Linked DNA regions of Homo sapiens: all the other regions are linked to region 2. Evidence: promoter capture Hi-C in 16 types of primary human blood cells and fetal thymus (Javierre and others, 2016). All regions are on one chromosome and are shown on one strand. The core of a region is centred on a gene start or on the middle of the fragment in contact, and the rest is flanking DNA. Distances in the headings are between cores, read along the strand shown. Region 1 holds the start of KBTBD7 (kelch repeat and BTB domain containing 7). Region 2 holds the start of WBP4 (WW domain binding protein 4). Region 3 holds the start of MTRF1 (mitochondrial translation release factor 1).

Region 1 (3,916 bases), core at 580-3,079, 130 kb before region 2:
CCAACCTGGGTGACAGGGCAAGACCCCATCTCAAAAAAAAAAAAAAAAAAGAAAAAAAAAAGGCTTTTTTCCCCAGCTGGTATTCACTGCAAGTCAGGAAACAATCATTGTTACTGATAATGACTGACTTGATTCTCTCTGGTGTATCTGAGGGATATCTAACATCTCTTTTTATTTACAGAGGAGTTATTAGAGCCCAGAGGCTGACTTAATTTAATGTGTCTACCCTAGAGTATTTCCAGTGGACTTCAGCTGATAAGTTGAAGTTATCTTCAGCTGATAAGAGAAAAACAATTTGAAAGTTATTCTCTTGTAATGTGTTATCCATACATGCATGTAACACTGATGATTTTCTTTATTAGGTTATGGTAACATAACAAACTAGCAGCAGGAGCAGTCATGGTTTTGTAATAAAAGTTATCTGAAAAAGTCTGTTACTGGTGGAGGGTGTCCAGGTTCTTGGCGTTTTGGACAAAAAATTGGACAAAACACATAAACAAAGCAAGGAAACAATGAAACAACAAAAGCAGAGATTTACTGAAAATGAAAGTACACTCCACAGTGGGGAGCGGGCCTGAGCATAGGGGCTCAAGGGCCCTGTTACAGAATTTCTGAAGGTTTAAATACCCTCTAGAGGATTCCACTGGTTACTTGGTGTACACCCTATGTAAATGAAGAGAATGAAGTAAAGTTACAAACTCATTTACTCAGCATACACCCTATGGAGAGGATCTTTCCTGTTATAGCTAAAGTGTGAATCAGCCTTATGTTCCCTGCCTCCAGACCCTATTTTCCTGCCTCAAATCTCTAATACTTGATTTTGATGATTTAACTGTTGATCCCAATGCAAATATAAAAGACTTTGTAAAGCATAGACTATACTATATATTAATTCAAGGAATGTCAGGGCATGTACTGATGTTGAATTCTGAGAATCATGTGCTTTTGTACAGAACAAAGTCTGTTTGTTGAAATATTTTGAGTTAAAATACTCCCTAAAACTCCTTAATAAAGGGAATTACATAATCTGTTAATTGATTTGTGGAACGGCAGTGAAAGAGGCTGTATTAGACGACTTGAAAACACTCATATTTGGAGCTTAACGAAAATACTCCTGCTCTCCAGAGATGAAATGTTAGTGAGAGCAGCAAATAATTTATTTTTATATGCTGGATTTGCGTATTTGAGACCATCTATTAATACTGTTCTTTAGGACCTCAACCTAGTCGTCTAAGACATCCTTATTAAACGAGACCAATAGATATCATTTAATATTGAAAATATTGTTAATGCCCTTCAAAATCTTTCGAAGGAATAAACATTAAAAACTAGAAATTCTTTGTAAAATTTTGCGGTTTAAAATAATACTCGGTTTCAAATTAGTGGGTGCCTCATTTATCATAAATTATAAAAGAGAATCTAACAGTTATTGGCTACATTCTAGGCACGGGGTAACGCTTTACTATTCTTCTAACCAAAAACATACATGTATCTAAGTATCCCATGTAAGGTATCATTGAACCACACAAAACCCTATGAAATACTGGCAGGGGGCGGTGGCTCACGCCTGTAATCCCAGCACATTGAGAGGCCGAGGCAGGAGGATAATTTGAGCCCTCAGGAGTTCAAGACCAGCCTGGGCAACAGTCTCTTCACCATCAAATCCAGGAGAATTAATTTCTACTGTTAGAGCAGTCAACTAAAGGACAGCTCGCGATATTACACAAACTACTACTCCCAACATGCAAAGCGGTTTCTTTCCCTCTGTCCCCGCCCGGCCGTCCGAGAGCCCCAGCAGGCCTCGGGGCGCGAAAGGCAACCTGGGAGCAGTAGTTCTCCCGGGCGCCTAGCGGGATCGCCAGCGCGGCAGTGGGGGCTTCCGCGGCTGCAAGCCAGCGGGTCCTGTGAGGGCGAGCGGAGGCGGAGAAAGGGCGCGGGAGTGAGAGAGGGTGAGTCAGCCACTGTCTATGCAATAAAGGGAGGCCTCACCGCGGGATAGGGCTGAATTCAGAAGTGCGGCCCGTGCCGCAGTCTGTTCCAGGACGCGGCTTGTCTTAGCGTCAGCGAGGGAAGGTTGAGGAGGAGCCAGAGCCTGGTCCTGCAGCCTTTCTCGCCGTCAGCGCCCGTCGCCATCTCCACCATGCAGTCCCGGGAAGACGTCCCGCGCTCTCGCCGCCTCGCCAGTCCCCGTGGTGGGAGGCGGCCCAAGAGGATTTCCAAGCCCTCGGTTTCGGCCTTTTTCACGGGTCCAGAGGAGTTAAAGGACACGGCCCATTCTGCAGCCCTGCTGGCACAGCTCAAGTCCTTCTACGACGCGCGGCTGCTGTGTGATGTGACCATCGAGGTGGTGACGCCTGGCAGCGGGCCTGGCACGGGTCGCCTCTTTTCCTGCAATCGCAACGTGCTAGCAGCTGCGTGTCCCTACTTCAAGAGCATGTTCACAGGTGGCATGTACGAGAGCCAGCAGGCCAGCGTGACCATGCACGATGTGGACGCCGAGTCCTTCGAGGTGTTGGTCGACTACTGCTACACGGGTCGTGTGTCTCTCAGTGAGGCCAATGTGCAGCGCCTGTACGCGGCCTCCGACATGCTACAGCTGGAATATGTGCGGGAAGCCTGTGCCTCCTTCTTAGCCCGACGTCTTGACCTGACCAACTGCACCGCCATCCTCAAGTTTGCAGACGCCTTCGACCATCACAAGCTTCGATCTCAGGCCCAGTCCTACATAGCTCACAACTTCAAGCAGCTCAGCCGAATGGGTTCAATTCGGGAGGAGACTCTAGCAGATCTAACCCTGGCCCAGCTGCTGGCTGTCCTACGCCTGGATAGTCTGGACATAGAGAGTGAGCGGACTGTATGCCATGTAGCTGTGCAGTGGCTGGAGGCTGCTGCCAAAGAGCGGGGTCCCAGTGCTGCAGAAGTCTTCAAGTGCGTGCGCTGGATGCACTTCACTGAAGAAGATCAGGACTACTTAGAAGGGCTGCTGACCAAGCCCATCGTGAAGAAGTACTGCCTGGACGTTATTGAAGGGGCCCTGCAGATGCGCTATGGTGACCTGTTGTACAAGTCTCTGGTGCCAGTGCCAAACAGCAGCAGCAGCAGTAGCAGCAGCAACTCTCTTGTATCTGCAGCAGAAAATCCACCCCAGAGACTGGGTATGTGTGCCAAGGAGATGGTGATCTTCTTTGGACATCCTAGAGATCCCTTTCTCTGCTATGACCCTTACTCGGGGGACATTTACACAATGCCATCCCCTTTGACCAGCTTTGCTCACACTAAGACTGTCACCTCCTCAGCTGTCTGTGTGTCCCCAGACCATGACATCTATCTAGCTGCTCAGCCCAGGAAAGACCTCTGGGTGTATAAACCAGCTCAGAATAGTTGGCAGCAACTTGCAGATCGCTTGCTGTGTCGTGAGGGCATGGATGTGGCATATCTCAATGGCTACATCTACATTTTGGGGGGACGAGACCCTATTACTGGAGTTAAGTTGAAGGAAGTGGAATGCTACAGTGTTCAGAGAAACCAGTGGGCATTGGTGGCTCCTGTCCCTCATTCCTTCTATTCCTTTGAACTCATAGTGGTTCAGAACTATCTTTATGCTGTCAACAGTAAGCGCATGCTTTGCTATGATCCTAGCCACAATATGTGGCTGAACTGTGCTTCTCTTAAACGTAGTGACTTTCAGGAAGCATGTGTCTTCAATGATGAAATCTATTGTATCTGTGACATCCCAGTCATGAAGGTCTACAACCCAGCTAGGGGAGAATGGAGGCGGATTAGTAATATTCCTTTGGATTCAGAGACCCACAACTACCAGATTGTCAATCATGACCAAAAGTTGCTTCTCATCACTTCTACAACCCCACAATGGAAAAAGAACCGAGTGACAGTGTATGAGTATGATACTAGGGAA
Region 2 (3,956 bases), core at 844-3,343:
AGAAAGAGAGACTTTAAGTGACCTGTGTGGTTTTAAAAATTCATGGTATTTATTTATAAGGATAGCCTAGGTAAAATAGTGAAGAACTTTAGCAACTATCCAAAAAGACCAAAACATCAAAAAAAAATCCAAATCCTAAACACCTTGCAGGTAACAGGAAATAAATGTCTACAGAAGAAATCCACAGCATTGTTAAAATATGAGACTACTATTCTTTGTGCATCCAACTTTGCCAAGTAAAAACGGTATCAACATAAAATATATTTAACAGATACCCTAGTGTTTATGTGGTATGTACATAGTATTTTGACATGCAAGAGGGGAGAAAAATCAGCGGTGTGCTTTTTGCTTTACATCTTCAAAACTGGATCTCAACTATGAGACAGACTAACAACATACCTAACAGAGTTGTTACTTTGTTTCATGAGAAAGGAAATAATGGTGTTCTTTCAAATTTAAGCATCTAAAGATACACAGCTCTGCATTAAATACACTTGATTATTTCTAGACCACAAAATATACAAGAAAAACTAAACATGTTGCTTTTATTTTTTAAGGGCTTTCCACAATTCTTTGGGTATGACAGTATTATGAACACCACCATTATAATATAGGTGCTTCATAACATGAATGATATGACCAACTCATTGCCCATTTCCCAAAAGGCCACAGAGAAATAATTTAATATATAATCAAAGTCAGGTTGATGAAAAGGAAGAAGGCTCACAGCTTTCATAGGGGACTGAGAAGACAGAAATCTTCTGATGTTTTGAAAATGCAAGAGCAATGTACATAAAAGTGCTTTGTAAACTGAGTTTACATCAAAAAGGAGCACTTCATTCAACACAATTATTATTAGAATCTCTAACAGCGGAATTATCATACAGGCCTATTGTCTGCTATCCAGCACTTGCAGTAATCACAGAATTTCTTTGGCTGTGACTTCCAGTAGTCCGCCCTGAAAAAGAGAGACAACAAGGCTAAGCTCATGTAAAACTTAAAAAAGGTTAAATTCTGCATGCTTTACAGTTTTTAAAGTTTGAAATATATGCCCCTGCTACTGAATCTTGTCTTGTTATGTATAGTCGTTTTATTATTTATCTGGTTGGAGCACAGTCAATTGAAATTCTGTTGCCAGCGGAGTAGAAAAAGTCTGTATCTGATTCATTACAAAACTCCCTTCAATAAAATGGCTTTCAAAAATTCCTCACTTGTTATCGTCATCGTTATGAAAAACTAAGGAACATCTTAGAAGAACATTTATCCTTTCTGGCTTTGGGGGAGGTTGCTGTAATGGAAACCTGAAGAAACTCATAAAGTTTGCCTTAAATCAAGTTATTCCCACCAAGAGAACAACGTACAAGACTACTCTGGGGAAAACTGTAGTTCCTCCCAGACTCTCAGTTAAAACAAACTGTTCTTGAGCCTCAAGGCAAGAGAGAACTGGAAAAGCCATGGGACTTCGTAGACGGCCGACAAAAAAAAAAAAAAAAAAAAAAAAAAAACCATTACGCTATCCAGGGCTGGCCGCTTCCAGTGGGCGGGGGAGGCCGCAGCCCAGCCCTAGTTTCACAATACCCTAGGGTTCAGGGGCTTCGGAAACCCAAGGGGTGCATGCGACCCCCGACAGCGTCGTAGAGAGAGCACTGCGTCGCTTCACCCGCGGCCGTCCAACCAGCCCCCTGAACCGGCCGCCGGCCTCCCCCTAGAGCCCGTGCCCCATACCCCAGGGCGTTCAGCGGGGTAACATTTCTACCCCGCCCTGAGAACCGGCCCTGCAGGTCTGGGGCCGGTCCCGAGCGAGTTAAGAACGCGTCTGTCACGCCCCCGGCCGAAGGGCGGGAGGAGAGGAGGGGAAGACCCGGGCGAGAAAGGGCGGCCCAGAGAAACAACACCTCGTTGTTCAGGGCCTGAGACCCAACTCACATGACTGCGCCAGCCGCTCTGCAAGTCGTCCAGGGTTCCACTCAGACTCGCGCTTTCCCAGCGGGACGAGTCGAGCTCTTCCAGCCGCCCGATGCCCACCCGAACCTCCCTCCGATCCAGACACCTTACTCAGTCCCCGGGACCAGCGTTCCGCTGTTCCCAACTACGGGTGCCCAGACGATCCAATCCGCGTTCGAAATCGCCTCCTCTCCCCTCCCCCTACAGGGGCGGTACTCCCGGCTCCAAAGAGGTGGGGTCGGTATAAAGGGGTTGAGGTCACCGGGAAGGGGTAAAAGCGCGACGGGACCTGAGCTGAAGGACGGGATCTCAAGCCTCAAGTCCCTGCGCCATCCCGCCGTCTCTGTGTCCTCCCCTGGGGCCCAAAACCTCCATCCTCCTTCTAGGCTCGCTGGCTCAAGGCCAAGGAGCTCAGCGCGCCGCCTCCGCCCGGAACGCAAACAGCTGTTCCCAGAGACGTCTCCGCTCTCAACTTTGCCAACTACTCCGCACGCACTTTGACCAGCGGAGCAACCGGGACCTGTGGGTCGGGGTCCTCTGGCGGAGTTAAAAAAAAAAGAGGTGAAACTGCGGGACCGGCGCTGCGAGTCGCTAGGCTTCGCCTCAAACTTTGCTGTTGCAGCGGAGCGGCCCCGCCCCTCCTCTCCCCTACGACGCCCACGCGCTCGGATGGGGCTTGTTCCCTAGCTCGGGAGCGTGTGGGCAGCAGCAGCGGCGGCGGCGGCGGCGGCGGCGGCGGCGGCAGCAGCAGCTTCAGTAGCGCAGAGGCGGCGGTGGCGAGAGGTGCGGCGAAGGAGGCAGAGGCACTTATGCTTGTCAGGTGGGTCACGGCAGTTTCTCATAGCACTTCCCATATGGTCTAGCGGTTAGGATTCCTGGTTTTCACCCAGGTGGCCCGGGTTCGACTCCCGGTATGGGAACGCTTCCTTATTTTTCTTTTTTTTTGCAACTATCGGTTTGGAGGGCTGACTTTTTAAATCTTGTGTTCTGGCTCCTTTCTTGTCCCCGTCTGGGTGAGTTTGTAGAAAATAAGCATTACTGTAGTTAGTGGCGCCAGGAGCTGGGCTGCGGCTTTTGGAGCCTCGAGTGCCACGCCGTGCCTGCTGGAGAAGCGAATGCGCTTCCGATCCTTCTCCCTCCCGCCTCCGGCTCACGGGGCTGGTGGGCCCTGAGGGAGTTTCACTTTCCCCTGGGCTGCTCCCCCGCCCCTCCGGCCCGTAGTTTTCCAGACGCCCGGGAGGTGATGATTAACTCCGGCCTTGCGTTATCTCCTCCCAGCGCCCCCGTCCGGCCCACACCCTCTTCAGCCGCTCTTGCGACTCTTCCTATGCAGGACGGGCTGACCCCCCTGCCCTGGGCGCCCCAGAGCCCGCGCCCGGACCAGTAGCTCTAGTGGTTCTCTGGCCGCAGGGTATTTACGAGGCCCCACGGAACACAGTGTGCCTTCCGCGCCCTCCCGGGGGGACGCGCTTTCCCGGCCGCGCAGCCGCCCGGCGCCCCTTTCCGCCGCGTGTGCGCTCGCGTCTCCACCCGCGGCGCCTGAGCAAGCGCGAGGCCGGCCTGCGAGGTCTTCCCAACTTGACTTAAGGGGCGCTGGTCGCAGTCACGGAAAGTACCCTCGAAAAAAGGCCTTTGGGAACGAGAATCTTTTTTCTTTCCCTTTAAAAATACACACCACGAGCTATGGAGGAGAAAAATACCACTCTGATGAGATGGCTTTAAATAAGTATATCGACTTTCCAAAGGGTCTAACATTTTGAGCGCGGTTGATTTAAAGAAAAAAATTGATTAAAACAACGGCAAAACATCCTGGGGTGGAGGTGGGGCTTGGGAAAGAGAAAATTGGCTGGAGACTGGGGAGGGGACGTTAAAACAAAGTTTCACTGTATTTTTAAATATAGAAGCCCTGTGTTTATTACAAAGAAGGGACAGCTGTGTCAGCAGCATGTGAGCTGTAAATGAAACAAAAGCGTTATCTTAAATGCAAGCTGAAATTAGAAAATAGGGTCGGC
Region 3 (3,697 bases), core at 1,151-3,650, 200 kb before region 2:
TGGGAGGATGAGGCAGGAGAATTGCTTGAATCCGGGAGACAGAAGTTGCAGTGAGCCAAGATCAGGCCACTGCACTCCAGCCTGGTGACAGAGCGAGACTCCACCTCAAAAAACAAAAAAACAAAAAAACAAAAAACCACCAGCTGGGTGGCCTAAACAACAGAAATTTGTTTCTTAGCCTCTTGCGAGATTGGGAAGTCTAACATCAAGGTGGCAGCAATGTAGGTTTCAGTCTGATACCTCTTCTCTTGGCTTGTAGGTGGCCACCATCTCACAGTGTACTCACGTAACCTCTTCTTTGTTTGGGCAGGGACAGTGAGCAAGATCTCTGGTGCCTTTTTAGAAAGGCACTAATCCTATTATGTCAGGGCTCTACTCTTACGACCTCATCTGACCTTAATCACCTTAAAGGCCCTATCTCCAATACAGACACATGTATTGGAGGGGTTAGGGCTTCAATATATGAATTTTAAAAATAAATATTAGTAATATGCACATGATTATGAATATAAACAATTCAGTCCATAGCAGTAAGACTACTTTTTTTTTTTTTTGAGACGGAGTTTCACTCTTGTTGCCCAGGCTGGAGTGCAATGGTGCAATCTTGGCTCACTGCCACCTCTGTCTCCTGGGTTCAAGCGATTCTCCTGCCTCAGCCTCCGAGTAGCTAGGATTACAAGCATGAGCCACCACGCCCAGCTAATTTTGTATTTTTAGTAGAGATGGGGTTTCTCCATGTTGGTCAGGCTGGTTTCGAACTCCTGACCTCAGGTGATCCACCTGGCTCGGCCTCCCAAAGTGCTAGGATTACAGGCGTGAACCACCACGCCCGACTAAGACTAATTTTTTAAGGAGAATAAAGCTTTATATATAATACTCAAGTTATATAGCTGAAAGCACAAATCAGAATAAATAATTAAAGAACTTTTTGGATAACTTAGGAGAATGACTTTATGTAGACCCTTTGAAACTTTTCCCCTACTGGAACATAAGCTCCATGTGGGCAAAGGTTTTTGTCTTTTCTGTTCATTGCTAAATCCTCATGACTAGAATAGTGAATAGCACATAACTGGTGTTCACTATTTATTGAATACATGATTGAAGGTTTTTTCTTTTTTGGAGCAGGGTGGCCCTATATCAGAGCTTAGGAGCCACAGATCATTAAAGCCATTGCCTTAATTGAGTCTTGGCTCTATCACTTACTGTTTTTTACCTTGGAGTAGTTACTTTAGCTCTGTGTGCCTTAATTTTCTCCTCTGCAAAATAAGTATTTTAAGGTTGTAAAAATTAAATGAATTAATAGGGTAAAACCATTTAGAACAGTATTTAGTACATAGTACATAGAAGTAGGTACCTTGAAGTTGGCTATAAACGTTAGATATTATTTTGCATATATAGCTAATTCTCCTATCTATGTATGTGATTATAATCTAAGAAAATACTCTGTAAAGTCAGTAATATGGTACATTTTTTGCCTTTTCTTTCAGGAAGAAAAATTGAGGCATGGAGATAGAAAGACTGTAAATTGCGATAGCCAAGGGCTGGATCCCACTGGATTAGTCAAAGTAGGACAATATGCTTGCATTTTCCTGCAATTGTTTATTAACTGGAGTTTTCATTCTTCACTTAATCAGTGGTTCATAAGCTATGAATCTAGGTTGAGCCCCTACATTCCCATGTGCAAAGAACATTATAAAATCACTAACATGTGGAAATACACGGTCTCCTAACTTTTGGGGCTGTTACTACTTTTAAAATATAAATTTATTTGTATTATCCTTTAGTCATTAGGTATTTTCTGAAGCAATGGAAGCTGAAAGTATAGAAATTACACGCAGAATCTTCTACATTTGTGGATGATGTAAAAGGAGTCTTTATTTTTTTTAAATATTGGAAAACAGTGCTTTACGGGCTTCTAATACATAAGGAAATTATTGTAATTTCACATGCAATGTGTTCTAAATCTTGATCTCTTAATCAGAATCGTAAAGAATCTCTCTTCTAGGTTTGCAGTTAACGGTGAAAACCAAAAACTCCACATTTGGCTGGATAGTGAGTGGAGGGGGTTGGAGGCTGCCGCAAGGTAAACTACAACTCCCAGGATTCTTTGGTGGGCGCTCTGGGAGTTGTAGTTTAGTCCCACCTTGGCCCCTCCCTCCCTCCCTCCCTCCCACCATCTCCATCCCCGCTCTGGGCTCACGCTCTGGATAAGGACGGCGCGGGGGCGGTTGTCTGATGACAATTTCATTCTCGTTTTGTCATTTTTCTCATTTAGCTCATTTTTGTCATTTTAGTCCATTGTTAGGCATGCTCGAGGACAACTCCTCCGGAGAGCGGTAGTGGCGGAGGAGGGGCCGGGAGCGTGCGTTAACCCGGAAGAAGTGAACCAGGAAGTGAACGTGATCTCGGGTTTGTCGGGCTGAAATGTGGCGGGTCTCGGAAGGTTCCGACCTCAGTAAAGAGAGCTAACGTGTATTCTTCTTTTTCTTAGGTACTCACAGTTCTTTCCTGATCTTCCCCGCCGCCTCCTGTATTGCCTCTTTATGGAATCACTCCATATACTGAGTTACACAGCATGGTTTGCCCGTGCTGCTGCCCCGCGGGCTGTCGCTTCTGACCTGCCTACACTCAGAACTTTCCCCAAAGCATCAGAGTAATACTGTTACTGTGATGGGTAATGGAGAAGTCGTGCTGTTCTCAGGTGTAGTTAACCTTGGAGAGTAAACATCTTGTTTTGTTTTGTTTTCCTTAATGTTGAGATTCATGACCTTGAAAATTATGCATTCTACTACTGTTCCTAAAATGGAAATTTTAGCAATAAGTATTCGTACAAACATATATTTGTCATCCTTTTATTCTGTCTGTTAGCAAATGGATACACTTTCTCTAACGTGCTTGAAATACGGGGGTGGTGGAGTGTAACGTTTGTGACAGCTGGCCATTGGTGCTTTCTTCAACAGTTCTTTTAATAATGTGATGCAGTATCCTAAAATCTATCAGTAGAACTCTGGAAACTGAATATTTTAAAGACCATTCTGACTATTTTATTTCCTAGGTGATAATGCTAAGTTAACAGACTTATAGTGAACAAATGAGCTAATATATCAATGCACCTCCTAGCATAGTAGGATCACTGGAGACAGTAAAGTTTGATTTTGATAAATGTTGATCCTTCTTTTTTTGAGTTGAGTCTCACTGTGTTGCCCAGGCTGGCCTTGAACTCCTTGGCTCAAGTGATCCTCCTGCCTCAGTCTCCTGGGTAGCTGGGACAATAGGTGCATGCTACTGTGCGTGGCTTGACCCTTATTTCAACTTTGAACCTTAGAGTTTTCTTAGAACACTTTATATTCTCCCTTTCTTACTCAGTAAGACCATTGTGTACTTTTGTTAGCTCTTGATTATCTCTGTTGGAGGGGAGGAGAACAGAAAATTATTGTACACAGCCAATTTCACCTAACCTGTAATTTTTTAAACTAATCTTTTTTTATGATTAGGAAAGTATTCCATGCTACATGTGCAAGAAACTTGGAAAACACTGAAAAGTAGAAAAAATAGCAAGCAAAAGGTATTCATAATCTCACAACTAGAGATCATTTTATTAACATTTTGGTATGTTTCTTTTTTTTTTTTTTTTTTTGAGACAGCGTGTTGCTTTGTCGCCCACGCTGGTTGCAGTGGTGCGATCTCAGTTCACTGC

The links. The method cuts DNA at HindIII sites, captures the fragments that hold promoters and counts their contacts. A CHiCAGO score of 5 or more calls a contact.
Region 1: a contact is called between the fragment with the promoter of KBTBD7 here and the fragment with the promoter of WBP4 in region 2, in 16 of 17 cell types (neutrophils, non-activated CD4 T cells, erythroblasts and 13 more). The highest score is 12.4, in neutrophils.
Region 3: the fragment with the promoter of MTRF1 here is called in contact with the fragment with the promoter of WBP4 in region 2 in 1 of 17 cell types (naive B cells); the score reaches 5.3 in naive B cells.

Annotation. Positions count from the first base shown.
Region 1 is chr13:41,192,482-41,196,397 of GRCh38, reverse strand. It overlaps KBTBD7 (kelch repeat and BTB domain containing 7), which reads left to right and starts at 1,829. Exons shown (of 1, transcript NM_032138.7): 1 at 1,829-3,916. The coding sequence starts at 2,141. All of the region lies in intron 3 of KBTBD6-DT (KBTBD6 divergent transcript), which reads right to left. RefSeq lists enhancers at 1,659-1,748, 2,059-2,328, 1,673-2,379, 2,380-3,087. The HindIII fragment of the contact is 3,616 bases long and covers 1-2,703 here.
Region 2 is chr13:41,059,646-41,063,601 of GRCh38, reverse strand. WBP4 (WW domain binding protein 4) reads right to left here and starts at 2,093. Exons shown (of 10, transcript NM_007187.5): 1 at 1,927-2,093; 2 at 886-958. The coding sequence starts at 1,928. It overlaps TRE-TTC1-2 (tRNA-Glu (anticodon TTC) 1-2), which reads left to right and starts at 2,793; the gene lies at 2,793-2,864. It also overlaps a transcript of ELF1 not described here. RefSeq lists a silencer at 3,299-3,478. The HindIII fragment of the contact is 8,920 bases long and covers 1-3,956 here.
Region 3 is chr13:41,262,279-41,265,975 of GRCh38, reverse strand. MTRF1 (mitochondrial translation release factor 1) reads left to right here and starts at 2,400. Exons shown (of 10, transcript NM_004294.4): 1 at 2,400-2,491. RefSeq lists a silencer at 2,105-2,194 and an enhancer at 2,482-2,982. The HindIII fragment of the contact is 4,724 bases long and covers 865-3,697 here.